2 separate regions of the Homo sapiens genome follow, and region 1 is linked to region 2. Evidence: promoter capture Hi-C in human tissues and cell types (Jung and others, 2019). All regions are on one chromosome and are shown on one strand. The core of a region is centred on a gene start or on the middle of the fragment in contact, and the rest is flanking DNA. Distances in the headings are between cores, read along the strand shown.

Evidence for each region. Contacts are between HindIII fragments. The study calls those that stand out against the background at their distance.
Region 1: a contact is called between a fragment that was not itself captured here and the fragment with the promoter of WDR5 in region 2, in 3 of the 25 tissues and cell types used here (lymphoblastoid cells, spleen and thymus).

The regions. Positions count from the first base shown.
Region 1 is chr9:133,788,305-133,795,824 of GRCh38, forward strand. VAV2 (vav guanine nucleotide exchange factor 2) reads right to left here. Exons shown (of 30, transcript NM_001134398.2): 12 at 7,364-7,432; 13 at 3,479-3,565; 14 at 954-1,039; 15 at 50-182. Among named protein-coding and RNA genes, the nearest start is that of SARDH, 54 kb to the left of the region's middle. RefSeq lists an enhancer at 4,715-4,764. The HindIII fragment of the contact is 4,129 bases long and covers 1-3,575 here.
Region 2 is chr9:134,132,954-134,140,039 of GRCh38, forward strand. WDR5 (WD repeat domain 5) reads left to right here and starts at 3,129. Exons shown (of 14, transcript NM_017588.3): 1 at 3,129-3,247; 2 at 6,867-7,005. The coding sequence starts at 6,925. WDR5-DT (WDR5 divergent transcript) reads right to left here and starts at 3,029. Exons shown (of 2, transcript NR_186420.1): 1 at 2,233-3,029. RefSeq lists enhancers at 2,170-2,279, 3,186-4,110 and silencers at 2,470-2,639, 3,080-3,259. The HindIII fragment of the contact is 22,361 bases long and covers 1-3,135 here.

The DNA of each region.
Region 1 (7,520 bases), core at 261-2,760, 350 kb before region 2:
AGGCCACCCCCACGTTCCTGGGTAGCAGGGGGGACCCGGAAGGCCCCACCTTCTTGACGTCCTTGTTGTTCATGGGGTCGTCGGTCATCTTGTGGAACAGCAGCTCGATGATCTCCTTGAGCTCGTAGCTGTAGCCCTTCCGCTTGCAGACGATGACCACCTTGTCAAACAGGAACAAGTACCTGGGCCAGGCAGCGCAGCGGGGGATCAGCACCCCAGCACTGTGTGCTCTGCTCCGAGGAGGCGGCAGGAGCTGAGCCTGAGGCTCTGGCACGCGGCTCCCTCTCCGGGCGAGCCCTGCCCTCACCTGGCTCACCAGGCTAATGCTGAGCCTCGGTCAGGTCTCGGCTGTTCCCACACTGCTTCTCCAGGAAGCCTTCCTTGGCTCCCTACCCCCGTGACTGAGGCTGTGCCAGGAGCCCTTCAAGGGGCTCCTGCATCCCCCACGCTGGCCTCCCATGCAGCACTGACCCCCGACGGCTACTCCCAGTTGATCCCGCGCTGGACTGGGAGCCTCAAGAGGGTGGGACCCAGATCTGCTGTGACCCCTGCCCCAGCACACAGTAGGTGCACAAGGAGGGCCCTGGACAAGCCTGGGCCACCGTGCGCCTGGACACTCTCCGGCAGTCATTTGGCAAAGAGCCCATCCGACCACTCTGGGCCTGTCTTGGGTTCCTGGAGGCTGAGCATTGGCAGTGAGGGGCCTGGCCCTCATCTTTGGCTGCCCCAGCCCAGCCTGGTGCCCGCCACAGGCACAAAAGCCCCACTGCTGTGGCGCCCGCTCGCTGACGAGAAGGAAGGAAGCAATTAAAACTGAACAACACAAAGCCACCGCCAGGCAGCTCTTTCCACAGGAAGGCCTGGCTTCCAGAGCCACTTAGGAGTGGCTCCCTGGGAGGGAGAGCCAGACCCTGGCGGGACGCCACCCAGCCCACAACACGCGCCCTGCTCACCTGTCCTGCTTGGTGTGGTTGACTATGGACCGGACTTTCAGTTCCCCGTCAATCTTTGGTCTTCCAAATTCCTCCAGTTTCACTTGCTGGGAAGAAGGAGAGGGGCCGTCAGCCGGGGCTGGAGCAGCCCCAGTTCTCCTGACCGCACGGGCAGGGCAGACTGTCGTGCACCCAAGGGAACTCCCCACAGGCAGCAGAGGCGGGACGAAGGGAAACAGCCCCTGTGGCTCCCAGCTGGTGCTCAGGATGGACGAGGGAGGGTGCAGAAGACCGGGAAGGGACTGGGCCTGGCAGCTTCTCTCCCTTTCCTGGCCAGCCCTGCCAAGGGGCTCCCTTCAGCTCTGGGGACAAAGGGCGATTGACGGTGCCGGTTGTGTTCACAGAGGCCGCCGCTGTGTGGAGCCCCAAGCGGGACCCGGTCGGAAAAGCCAGAAGCCCAAGCCCCACGTTCAGGAGAGAACAAACAGCGCCTATCTGCTGCAGGGCGGGTGGGGCCGGGGTCCTGCCAAGGGTGAGGCTTCGACTCAGACCCCTGTGTGGTTCGCTGAGGTTCATTTTCGTTGTCTGTCTGGTTTTGTCTCTGTGACTCTTCTGATTCAGAGAGAGCTTCTCTTGACATGTTCCCTGCGTGGCTTTCAAAGTGTCCACACAGACAGGAAAAGGTGGAGGAAAATGCTTCAAGACACGAACAGGGCCCTGCCTGGGAGGTGCTCGAGGCACAGGCTCAGTGTCTCCTTCCAAGGTCTCAGCCCCAGAGGCTGCAAGGACAGCTTTGGTGTCACATAGTCCCAGTCAACTTGCTCCAGGCCTCTGATCTCAGCTCTCACCACCTTCCCTGTGGCAATGGGATTCAGAGCCAGGACTGGGTACAGGGCCTGGCTCATGGGGATGCTCGACGCCTGCTGGCCATGCTGTTTTATTCTTGTTGTTGTCGTTTTTGAGATAGTCTCACTACGTCACCCAGGCTGGAGTGCAGTGGCGCAATCGTGGCTCACTGCAACCTCTGCCTCCCGGGTTCAAGAGATTCTCCTGCCTCAGCCTCCCAAGTAGCTGCGATTATAGGCACCCGCCAGCACGCCTGGCTAATTTTTGTATTTTTAGTAGAGACAGGGTTTTACCACATTTGCCAGGTTGGTCTCGAACTCCTGACCTCAAGTGATCCTTCCACCTCAGCCTCCCAGAGTGCTGGGATTACAGGCATGACCACCGCGCCCAGCCTGTTCTTGCTGTTTAATGAACAAGTATTACTTCTATGTAAAAACTTAAAAAACAAAACAAAACGAACTTTTCTCCTCACGTCCTGCTCACTGTACGCATTTGTGACCGCCTCGCGCAGGAGCTCACGGCAGCACGGACCCGCCAGGTGCTGATGGTGCAGGGTGCGGCCGTCCTTGGCCTCCTCTGCACCCACACATTTTAATTTCTTTCTAAAATGAAAGATGAAGGGGGCAGTATCATAATGCCCTTCAGAAGCTTATTTTTTTTTTCTTTCATCGCCGACGTATCGCAGGTGCTTTTCCGTGCCCCACGTTCGCGGAGGGCATTCTCTTTGTGCTGCTGGCACCGGGTGGGTGTGGCCTGGCCATCGGGGACCTTCCCCTGCCAGCTTCATGTCAGTGAAATCACCAGGGTGAAAATGTTTGTGATTCACCACCAGGGGTAATTTTGCCACCCAAAGGACCCTCTGGTAATGTCCAGAGGCATATCTGGTTGGCATTACTTGAGGGGGTGGGGGTGCTACTGGTGTCTGGTGGGTGGCAGGCAGGTACACTGCTCCACATCCTGTAACGCACAGGGGCAGGTCCCACAACCAAGAATGATCCAGCCCCAGACGTCAGCAGTGCTGAGGTGGAGAAGCCCAGGTTAGAACCAGCAGATCCTCGGGAAGTCGGCTCCGGTCAGCACAGACCAGGGAGTTTGCTTCCTGGGGTGGCGCATCCCCTCTCCCCAGGCAGGACGAGGTGACTGACTCGGTAGCCCAAGCCTGGCCTCTGCAGGGCCAGACTCTGGGGAGCCCCAGGAGGTGGCAGCCCTGCCTGATGGGGTCCGAGGAGCAGAGGCGACTGCCGGCCCCACCGAGCCTGGGCCCAAACCCTGTCCATTGCCCCTGGAGGGGAGAGTCAAGGTGAGGGTGGGCCAGGGGTCCACGAACCAGGGGGCGTCTCCTGCCCCTGGGAGACACAGTTCTCCTCTTGGACTTGAAGGGGTCTTCTGTCTAGGCTTGGGGGAGAAGGGGGGCTGGGCAATGAATACAGTCCCTCCCCTGTCCCCTCCCCTCCCCGTCCCCCTCCCCCCGAGCACAGGCAGTCTTCAGTGCACAGGGCACTTGGGTTGGCTGTCGTGGGCAAGGAAGCGTGGATGCTGGGGGTCTGAGATCAAACTCAGAAGTTGCCGGGCACCAGCCTCTCAACAGGCAGCCATGGTGTGGCTGCCCATGGAGCTCACTCAATACTGGGGCTGTGAACGTGACTTTATAGGTACGTCCTCATCGACCTTCCCTAGCCTGAAGAGTCAGTCTCACTCACCAAATTTTCTATAGAACTCTGAAATTCGCTGATTTTCCTCAAGGTCTCCTTGTCCCGTTTAACTTCATTGATGTACATCGCCAAGTCCTTGAAAACAAGAGGCAGAGGTGAGCGGGCTGTGCTGGGTGGGGTGTGTGTGACTGTGTGTGTAAGCAGGCTGTACTGGGTGGGGTGTGTGTGCATGTGAGCGGGCTGTGCTGGGTGGGGGGTGTGTGACTGTGTGTGAATGAGCTGTGCTGGGTGGGGTGTGTGTGTGTGAGCATGTGTGAGCGGACTGTGCTGTGGTGTGTGTGTGTGAGACAGCATGTGTGTGTGAGCGGGCTGTACTGTGTGGGGTGTGTGTGAGCGGGTTGTGCTGGGTGGGGTGTGTGTGACTGTGTGTGTGTAAGCGGGCTGTACTGGGTGGGGTGTGTGTGACTGTGTGTGTGAGCTGGTTGTGCTGGTTGGGGTGTGTGTGACTGTGTGTATAAGCGGGCTGTACTGGGTGGGGTGTGTGGTATGTGAGCGAGCTGTGCTGGGTGGGGTATGTGTGTGTGATTGTGTGTATGTGTGAGTGAGCTGTGCTGGGTGGGGTGCATGTGTGTGTGTGTGTGAGCGGGCTGTGCTGTGGTGTGTATGTGTATGAGTGATTGTGTGAGAACATGTGTGTCTGAGTGGGCTGTACTGGGTAGGGTGTGTGTGATTGTGTGTGTGATTGTGTGAGCAGGTTATGCTGAGTGGGGTGCGTGTGATTGGGTGTGTGTTATTGTGTGTGTGTATGTGAGCAGGTTGTGCCGGGTGGGGTGTGTCTGACTGTGTGGTTGTGTGTGTGAGCAAGCTGTGCTGTGCAGGGTGTGTGTGTGTGAGCGTGTGTGTGCATGCACGCACATACATGCAGGAGCTCAGCCCCCAAGGGACCCCCCCCCCCACCCCCCACCCAGCATCCAGGCACCGGGCGTTTCTGGACCTTCTTCCTCCATCCTGCCGGGGAGGCCGCCCTCGAGACAGGAGGGCTGAAAAACATCACCTCTGCATGACAGATGAGGAAACTGAGGCAGGAAAGGGAACACACTGACCGAGAGCCACACCTCGTCAGTGATGATGCCAAGAGCCCCAAACTCCTGGCTGGTGCCACTTCTTTCTACCCCATCACGTGGTCCCTCTTAAACATCCTAATAGAGGGAAGCAGCCCTGTGTGTGGGAGCCACATCAGGCCACATAAGAGCCACCTAGACTTGGGCTGACCTATGTCCCTGTTCTTGGGAAGCTTCCCCCTCCCCAGCCTCTCTAAGCCACAGCCTCCCCTTGGAGCCTGGACAGAATGAGGGGTCAGGAAGTCCCTCTCTCCACGGGTCTGGCCACCCCCACTCCGGCGCCTGCCTGCCGTGCTGCAATCCTCGTGCTGGCCACCAGAGAGCAGTGCCCACTTCAGTCCAGAAAACGCAGTGTCCAGACCTGGCCCACAGCGGAACCCAAGGGAGCCGGCCACGTGGGCGGTCCTGGCCCTGCCCCCCGAGAGCAGCGGGTGGAATTCCCCAAAATGCAAGTGACCAGCCAGGGCCAGAGCCAGAGCCAGAGCCAGGTCTTCAGCAGGTTCCCATCCCTCCCGCCCTTCCTCGTTCCTAGAAGACCTCACCATTGGCTCCCCACCCACCCCGCAGGAGGGAACTTCCTGGGGAGGCTGCAGCACGCTGTCTGAAAGGGGTGTTCCGTTTTCTTGTCGTTGTCCACTTGCCTTTAAAATAAGGAATAAATTCCCAGAGACAAGGACCCCAGTAGCAAGTCTGGAGCTCAGGACCACCCCCCTCCCAAAGGCAGAAACATTACAACTGTGACCACCGCGGCCCCTGCGTGCACCTGGCCCAATGCCTGGCATGAAATAGGAACAGATGGAAGTTGCCCGAATGAATGAGCAGGTGAGGGAAATGTCTGTACTTTGATACAGAGGCAGGACTGCAGTCAGCTCATGGAGCTTGGACCTAAAACCGCAATTCCCTTGGAGACAAACCTCAGGCCCACAGCGGCACGGGGGCTGATTCTCAAAGACGCTGCCGTACAAGGAGTGAGCCCTCAGTCCCTAGGGGAAATCAAGCCCAGGTACAGCGACGACTCCCATAGTGGCTGCATGAATGACTTCCTATATAAATTGGGAATGGATCAAAAGACTTCTAAAATCCCCCCAGCCCTGAAGTTTCATGATGAGGTTCGGTGGCTCTCAGAAAGGCAGACGCACACCCGCAAGTCACCGAGTACTTTGTGCAGCACCGTGAGCTACACTCCTGGGAAACCATCCCGTCGAGGGGCTCAGAGCCACTCGCCAGCCAGACACCGAGTGCTGAGAGTATGAAACGCAAGACCACACTCAGGGCCCGGGTGCACGGCCCACTGCACCTGCTGTCACTGTCTCAGAGCCCCCGAGGACGCATCCACGCTGGCTCACACACCGTGGCTCACAGCAGACAGGCCAGAGCAGGTGTTGGAGAGGGGCGGCTTGGGGGCTGCAGAGCTGACACCGAGAAAGTTCTGTCAGCCCGTCATGGCAGGAGGCTTTCCTGGAGCATTCCTCAGGGTGCTCGCTGCCCAGTGCAGCCGAGCGGGAATCTGAAGGTCTCTGGGACCACCTCCCGTGCCCACACACGAGTGCCCACAGGATTTGGAGTAAATTTCTCCCCGAGCACAAGCCCTGCTCAGAGAACCTCTTAGCACCGGCGGCCAAGCACTGGCCCCACTCCCGTCCCAGCCCAACAGCAGCTATAGACAGAGACAGATTACAGCCCCTCCCCCACCCAGAGGGAGCTCCTTAAATGAGGTACCTGGGAAAGGAAAAGGGGGCCCAAAGCCCAGGGGGGCTGCCCAGAGGGCAGGGGCCAGGTGTCAGAGGGCAGGACTGCAGCCCTGAGGGGGGCTGGCAGAGGTGTCCTGTGCTCCCGACGAGGGAGATGTGGGGGGGGTCGTCATCCCTCCACCCAGATGCAGCTGGAGGGGACCTACCACATGCCAGGTGCTGTGCCTGGCCTGGGGACACAGGTGACTATGGCTGACACATGCCTGGCTGGGAAGGAGATGGCACGAACAAGTGTGTCCAGGAGGAAGAGTGCCACCCACGAGGAAGCCAGTTCCCTGAGGACAGAACCCAGTGGGGGGCGATCCTCCCTGGAAAACGTTCTGTCCACAGTGAAGGCAGGATGAGCAGGACGTGGCCAGGTGACGAGGAGGAGGGTGCACCTGAGCCAACACCCGGAGCCGGGGAAGTGCAGGGCACGTGCAGGAGCCTGGGAGGGATCAAACCTGCCTGGAACTGTGCTGAACACAGCTGCGACATCAGGGGCAAGTATCCTGCAGAAGGCCGGGAGTGCCAGAGTGAGGAGCCCATGCCTGCTTCATGGGCAGAGGGAGCCACGGAAGGTTTCTGAGCAAGGGAGTGGCATGAGCTGAGCTCACCCGGACAAGGGGAGAGAGGGAGGCATGGCTGGCTGGGGGCCCTCGAAACAGCCAGGAGCGAAGGAGCTCCCCAGGCAGGTAGCTGAGAGATGGCACCGGAGGTGGCATTTTAGAAGCAGAAGCCTCAGTGCTGGGAGTGAGAAGCACTGGGCCAGAAAGCCCAGAATGGAGGCCAATGCCTGGGGGAAAAGCAGGGGGAGGGGAGGCTCAAGGGAGGTCTTGTTGGACAGGTGAGGTTAGGACTCGGGACACCTGAGGGGGCACCTGACCTGCAGTGCCCTCCACCCGTCACCTCTACCTCCTGTGGGTCTCACCCACTGCCCTGCCCTGCCCTGCCCCAACTCCTGCTGTCCCAGGAAACTGTCCACAGTCAAAACTGAGGCTCGTTAATGAGCCCAATTCCAGTCCAAGAACACGGGCTAAGCCAGACGGTGGCTTCTCCCCTGCCTCAGTTTACCCACACACCTGCATGGCTTCCAGTGCTTCTTTGAGCTGCTGCCTCTCAGGCCGTTCCGCAGAATGGCTCAGAAGCTCCTGGAAGGGTGAGAAGAGTGTCATGTGTTACCACTCGGGGGTTCTGGCCTCTGCCCTGGCCCCTACCTGGGGCAGGAGGTGTGCACAG
Region 2 (7,086 bases), core at 1,879-4,378:
GTGGAGGAGCTGGGGGCCGGAAGACTTGCCACGTTTAGGGAGGCCCAAGTGGACACTGGCTGGTTGGGGGTGCCCTGGGGAGGAGAGACTGGTGGAGGGACCTGGGCCAGCGGGGAGGGTGGCCAGCAGGCCTGGACTGTTGGGCTGATCAGAGATCCTTGAGTGCAGGTGGGGAGAAACCTTCTAGAAATGTTTGTTTGTTTGTTTATTTATTTATTTATGAGACAGAGTCTCGCTCTGTTGCCAGGCTGGAGTGCAGTGGTGCAATCTCAGCTCACTGCAACCTCCACCTCCTGGGTTCAAGTGATTCTCCTGCCTCAGCCTCCCGAGTAGCTGGGACTACAGGCACCCATCACCATGCCTGGCTAATTGGTATTTTCAGTAGAGATGGGGTTTCGCTATGTTGACCAGGATGGTTTTGATCTCTTGTTCTTGTGATCTGCCCACCTTGGCTTCTCAAAGTGCTGGGATTACAGGCGTGAGCCACTGTGCCTGGCCAAAATGTTGTATTTATAAAAATTGTTTAGAGAAGGCTGGGCGTGATGGCTCACGCCTGTAATCCCAGCACTTTGGAGGCCAAGGCGGGTGGATCACCTGAGGTTAGGAGTTTGAGACCAGCCTGACCAACATGGTGAAACCCCATCTCTACTGAAAATACAAAATTAGCTGGGCGTGGTGGCGCATGCCTGTAATCCCAGCTACTCGGGAGGCTGAGGCAGGAGACTTGCTTGAACTCGGGAGGCCAAGGTTGTGGTGATCACCCCATTGCACTCCAGCCTGGGCAACAAGAGCAAACTCCGTCTCAAAAAAAAAAAAAAAAAAAAAAAAGAGAAAATCCTCTAACCCCATTCAGCAATTTTTGCAATCCACCCCTGCCTGCAGTCATAGCTAAAATTCTGAAACCATATAACGCCAGCAAGGAAGAGAATTTAACAAAGGCAAGTAATTTGCTTTACTAAGTTTTAAATCCTCTTATATCCTACCAAACAGTTGTCAGCCTCAGGAAAAAATATGGCAGGTGAAAATAGAAGAGAAAATAAGAATCACAGAAGAGGAACAAACACGATGGAGATTTTCAGAACATTAACTAGGCTTTGGCCACCAGCAGTGACTTAGTAAATGGAACTGTTTCTCTGAACATCTTTTTTATTTTTTTGAGACGGAGTTTTGCTCTTGTTGCCCAGGCTGGAGTGCAATGGTGCGATCTCGGCTCACTGCAACCTCTTTCCTGGGTTCCAGCGATTCTCCTTGCCTCAGCCTCAGCCTCAGGTGATCCCGACCTCAGGTGATCCACTCGCCTCAGCCTCCCAAAGTGCTGGGATTACAGGCGTGAGCCGCCGCGCCCGGCCGGATTTTCTCATTTTTACTAGAAGGTTCTATCTCCTGGGGGTGGGGTGAGGTGGTGAGACCAATTCACCTGGAAGTGGAAGCTGGGAACTTGGTTTGAGTTCTGAGGGTTCTGGGGTCTCGCCCCTTATCTTGCTTTGCCTGGAGGGCTGAAGGGCTGGAAATATTTTTGTTTTGGGGCTGGAACCAGGACTGCAGTTTGGGAGCCGGTGCTAGGTTGGAAGAGGAGGCGGGGTCTGGTAAGCACTTTAGCCGAATTGAGCAGTGGGAATTAGGGAATTGAGGGCAGTGGGAAGCTGGTTCTGAGTTTTAAACTGGGGAGTGACAGATCAGAGCTGGATTTTTAGGAGTTTCTCTGTTTGGAGGTTTAGAAAAGACCCAGGTGGGAGGTAGGGCTGGGGTGGGGAGGGAGAGAAGTGGACGATCTGAGAGCTGAGGTGGGGTGGAAGGAGAGCAGCGTGTCACGGGCTCGGGATTCCGGCCCAGGCGGCCAGGTGGACGGAGATAAAGATGCGCTTCTTCATCCGAACTGGGTTTGCTAACCTGTGACTGTCACCACTCCATGCTCCAGGGCACCTGGCCCAAGGGATCCGGCCTCTTGGGCACACAAATCCATATGGAGCCCTGAAGGACCAGACAGGGACCTTGCCTTCTCTGTGTCCTTCCTGGGAAGGGGACTCCAGACCAACTGCCAGTCTTCCGGTTCCACCTCTCTGACAACCGCTCACCTCACCCTCCTTGGCATTTTTATTTCAAATGCTCTATCCCTTTGTTTGCATGGGTTCCTGTGTCATATTCTGTGTTCCCATTTTTAATTGGAGAATAAGGGACTGTATGTTATTCTACCCACAGGCCTAGCTGAGGGGATAGGGAGGCCATGCCTACCTCCAAGGCTCTAAGAAGTGAAGCAGGCGGCGAGAATGTGCAGTCGTTGAGGCCAGAGGACCGGGCCTCAGCTTCTCCTTAAGCCCCTGAGTCCTCCTCTGGGGACCACCCCCTTGTACCTGGAGGTGAAAATGCCCGCCCAGGAGGGAAGGGCTGGCCCCGGGAGAGCCCGCTGCGAAGTGAGTTTGCGCACTGCGGAGCGGGCGCGGGTGACTCCAGAGCGGCCCTGCCAGTCCGCGGGGCTGGCGGGGAGCAGGTTCGTGCACCGCGGGCTCTGTGCATGCAGAGGCGGGAAGAGCCCCCAGCCCGGCAGCCGGCCCCGCGGGAAGGCGCAGCCCGGGCTTCCGAACCCTGTGAACGCGCAGGTTCCTGGTCTTCCAGATGGGCAGGAATCGTCCTGCCCGCCCGGGGTGGGAGGCCACATGGGGGCACTGCGCCCGGGCGCGGCCCCAGGTGCTTTCCAAATGCCCACTGCCGCTCTCATCCGTACCAGCGATGATCAAGAAGGGGCCTGGTCGCCCGGGGAGGTGCCCCGGCCCGAATCGACTCCGGAGACAACGCCGGGCGACGCCACCTGCGCAGGTCCCGGAGGGCCGCTGGTGTCTGTGTACAGGGCGTGCTGTCTGTGGAAACGCGAGGGCACACTAGCACTTTCCTGTATGTATTATTATACTTCAGTTTTTAGGAAGTGCATTAGAAGGGCCTGCACCAGTCAAATTCGGGGATTAAAGCTTTTAAGCGGGAAGCGCGCGCCCCGTGCTGTCCCTTTAAAGCGTTGGGCCGGCCCGAGGCATTCTGGCCGCTGTCGCTGCCCGTAGCGCTCCTCCGAGAGGCCGGCTTTGTGAGCTCGCCCCGCCCCCCGGACACCGCCCCCTCCCCTCGCGCACGCGCACTGCGCCCCCGCCGCCTGGCGCCCGCCCGAGCTGCCGCCTTGTCGAGCTGAGTCCGCGCTCCCGCCCAGGCGGCGGCCGACGCGACGCCCCGAGCGCCCGGCCCCGCCGCCGCGGCCCGGCAGGTAAGCGGGCAGCCGCCCGGCCCGGGGAACACAAGGCGGGCAGCGGGGCGGCGCCAGAAGCTTCCAAACCGCACCCGGCCGCCGCACGTGTTCCCCGCCGGGCCTCGGGCCAGGCCCAGCCCCGGGCGCTGCTCCCGCTGCAGCGGCCCCGCCCGGGACCCCCGCCCCGGCCCCTCGGTGGACGGCCGCGCGCGCAGTTCCCTCCACCCGGTCCGCCCCCACTCGCGCCCCCACCTCCGCCTCCCCGGCGGACCGCTGACAAGGCCAGAGCGCCGGCACTGGGTCCTCTTTCCCGCAGGCAGCGTGCCCGGCCTCACATCGCCCCTCTCCCTCCACTGCCCCTTCAGGGAAGGACCCCAGACCCACCAAGCCACTCAGTCCCTGGACGAGGTGCGCTTCCCCTCCTCGTAGAAACGCCCCCAGCCCGCTCCCGCCGCTCACCCCAACCCGAGGCAGCCAGGCTGCAGCTCGCTAGGTGGGGTCCTGGGGTGCGGGTCCTCGGTCCTGAACGGTAGGCCCACCGTGCCTCCTCGCGCGGGGCCGCAGACCTGTCCTGGCCGGTCTGCGAGAGCCATTTTGAGCGGTTACGTTCCCGGACCAAACAGAGGTCGGCCTGTTACATCGCTAACGACACTCCCTGCTGTCTCGCTTGCAAGTTTCCACTCACCCCGGTCCGTTTACCCATCTCCTCAAATGCTAGTTTAATCTGTGACCTGGGCAGGTGCTGTCCTAGCCGGTGGGGAAGACAGGAAAGCGAAGGACCCAGGCGGGGAGCCTGTCCAGGATCTCAGATAGGGAGAGCCAGGTCCCCACCTCTGTTGGGCCGGCCACCCGGCTGGTGTTTAAGATGCAGATTAATTCCTGTCTTTGCACACAGTATGCTTTTCTGACTGCATGTCACAGGCAGATTCCTGGGCTCCACCTCAGGGACTGAGGGACTCAGGAATCGGCCTGTGGCATGCAGTCCAGGAGGGCACACTGAGGTTTGGTTGCTCGGCTTCAGGTGGTCAGGCTTACCTGGATGAAAAGCAGTGGCTGCTAGGAGGAGCCAGGCAGCATCTGGTCTAGGGGCCGCCAATTCATCACCGTTCCCGTAACCTTGGCCCCCGCTTTCCTCAAGATCAAGTCTCCAACCTTCCTGTTCTCTCAAAAGGATTGTTCCACAGAGACACCTGAGTGTTCATGAAAATGCCAAGCCTTGGCCCGGCGCGGTGGCTCACGCCTGTAATCCTAGCACTTTGGGAGGCTGAGGCGGGCGGATTGCCTGAGGTCAGGAGTTCGAGACTAGCCTGGGCAACATGGCGAAACTCCGTCTCTACTAAAAATACAAAAGATTGGCCGGGCGTAGTGGTACGCGCCTGTAATCCCGGCTAAACTGGAGGCTGAGGCGCAAGAATTACTTGAACCCGGAAGGTGGAGGTTGTAGTGAGCCCAGATCGTGCACCTGGACTCTTTGGACTGTGTCTCAAAAAAAAAACAAAAACAAAAAAAAAACACGCCAAGCCTAGACCCCACCGACGTAGAAACTTGGTGGGTGTGTTGGGTCAAGAAATTGCATTCCCCGCCACCCCCCGACGGAGTTTCACTGTTTGGCCCAGGCTGGAGTGCAGTGGCGCAATCTTGGTTCTGCCTTCTGGTTTCAAGTGATTCTCCTGCCTCAGCCTCCCGAGTAGCTGGGATTACAGGGACCGACCACCACACCCGGCTAATTTCTGTATTTTTAGTAGGGAGGGGGTTTCTCCATGCTGGTCAGGCTGGTCTTGAACTTCCTGACCTCGTGATCTGCCCACCTCAGCCTCCCAAAGTGCTGAGATTACAGGCGTCAGCCACTGTGCCCAGCCATCATATTCTTAAAAGTCAAGTTAAGGTTGTTTTGTTTGTTTCTTTTACATGTTCATGTTTTTTGAGCCCAAAGGTTGGGGCAGGTTGGGCTTGAGCTGGGAGGGGCTGGACACCTTTTTTGTAAGACCGCCTATCTGTTGTTCCTCCTCTGAGGGTGTTTCCAGGCGTCTAGACTCACCCAGGTGAGTTGATGCTGACAGGAGCTGCTCGGCCTTCTGAGCTGCCTATTTCGCCTTCTGTTCCTCTGGTGTTTCGCTTGGGTAGGGCATGGGCACAGTTCACTCAGCTCTGGCCCTGGCCTGGCTGTCTAACGCTAGGACTGTTATAGTGGACTTTGCAGCTTTTTGCTTGGATTTCCTTAGTTCCTCTCTCTCCCTGTATTTGTCCAGCCTGCCAAGGAAAATGCAGCAGTTGGGTTAAATTGGCATGGCTAGGTTGCACTAATGACAAGTACCACGTAGCTGGCATTTACCGAGGACCGGTTTTGTACTGGCACTTTGTCCCCTGGGCAGCGCTACAGGGCCTGCCCCTCCTCTCCCCCTCTCTTGTACTGTACTCGGCCCTAGATGCAGCGTGATCCATCTTTGCGCAGGGAATCTTTGCTGCAGGTGAAATGGAGCGGTGGCCACACCTGTTCTCTGCAAAGTGGGTGTTGTAATTTCTCTGCCTTCCTCTTGGATGAAGACTTTGAGACATGCTTTTTAATGCCTTCCATTTCGCGTTAGTGTTACAATCAGCCTGTGCAAGATTTCAGTTCCAAGCTCCAAGCTAGAATTTACAGTGTGTAAACTCATTAGATTGATGGTAGTGCTAGCTTCTGGGATTCCGATGGCCAGTGGTATTTGCAAGCATGTCTCAGTGGCTTTCCCTTTTAAAAATGCTGTCCCTCCTTTCCAAGTAACCTGTTGTGCTTTTATGAGATGTATTGAAGTAATGAATCTATTCCCATGGTAGAGGAAACTAGCTGCTTACTGTACAGATTTGGGATAATTTTCATTGTCAAGGTGAAACCGATTGAACTGCAGTCTTTTTTCGTTCCCCTGCAGTGTGAGTCCTGCTCGTAGAATATCGTTGGTGTACTTGAGGCTGCTTTTCCAGAAGGCAGGATGTGGAAATTCCAGCAGGCAGAGCTGCCTCTGGCTTGCTCTCATCTCTGTGTTTTGTGGCTCCTCACTGAGTGCGCGAGCCCTGTGAGCTGTTAGCATGCTGGAAGGCAGCCTCGGGCCAGCAGCCTGTGCATGGAGGCACTGGAGCCCCCCCATGAGGCGTAGACCACTGGGTGCCCGTGCTTGTGTTTTCAAACGTGGCTGTGAACGTGATTGCGTCACTTGGGGTGCATTTTAGGATTTGGATGTGATCCCAAATTTCTACACCCTGAAGCTCAGTCTTCTGTCATTTGGCGTGTTAGCTTTCTGTCAGGAAACCTTTTGCTGTTCTTTTTTTAATGTGTCCAGGGCTCTTTGAAGAAAACTGCATTTTGTTTGCACAAACTGCTGCATTCTTACAGACTTCTGGATAACAAAATAAGAAGCACGCTTGAGGGTGGGGTCTTTCATTATGATGACAAAAGGGGAGAGCGCAGGGGTGTCAGCGGAGCAGCTGGAAAGTATTAGCAAGGACTTAGGGGAATTAATAGGGTCCTCAATTTGGAATGGTTTGTTTGCTACAGGGCTCAATATGGTAGTCAAATGTTTTTCTTTTCATCCTTTTTCTTGGAAATCAATTTTTTAAAATATAGTTTGTTTCTTGGCTCCCTGTTCTGCATCTCGCTCAACAGACTGCCTCTGTCACCGGGTCCCTCCACCCTTGTCTCCTGTGCGGCCAGCGTCAGAGCCATGGCGACGGAGGAGAAGAAGCCCGAGACCGAGGCCGCCAGAGCACAGCCAACCCCTTCGTCATCCGCCACTCAGAGCAAGGTGCGTGCCCAGGGGCCCCTTGGACACCTTCCGGGGGCAAATACGCTTAGAGAGTCTCGGAAACATCTCAAGCTCATAAGC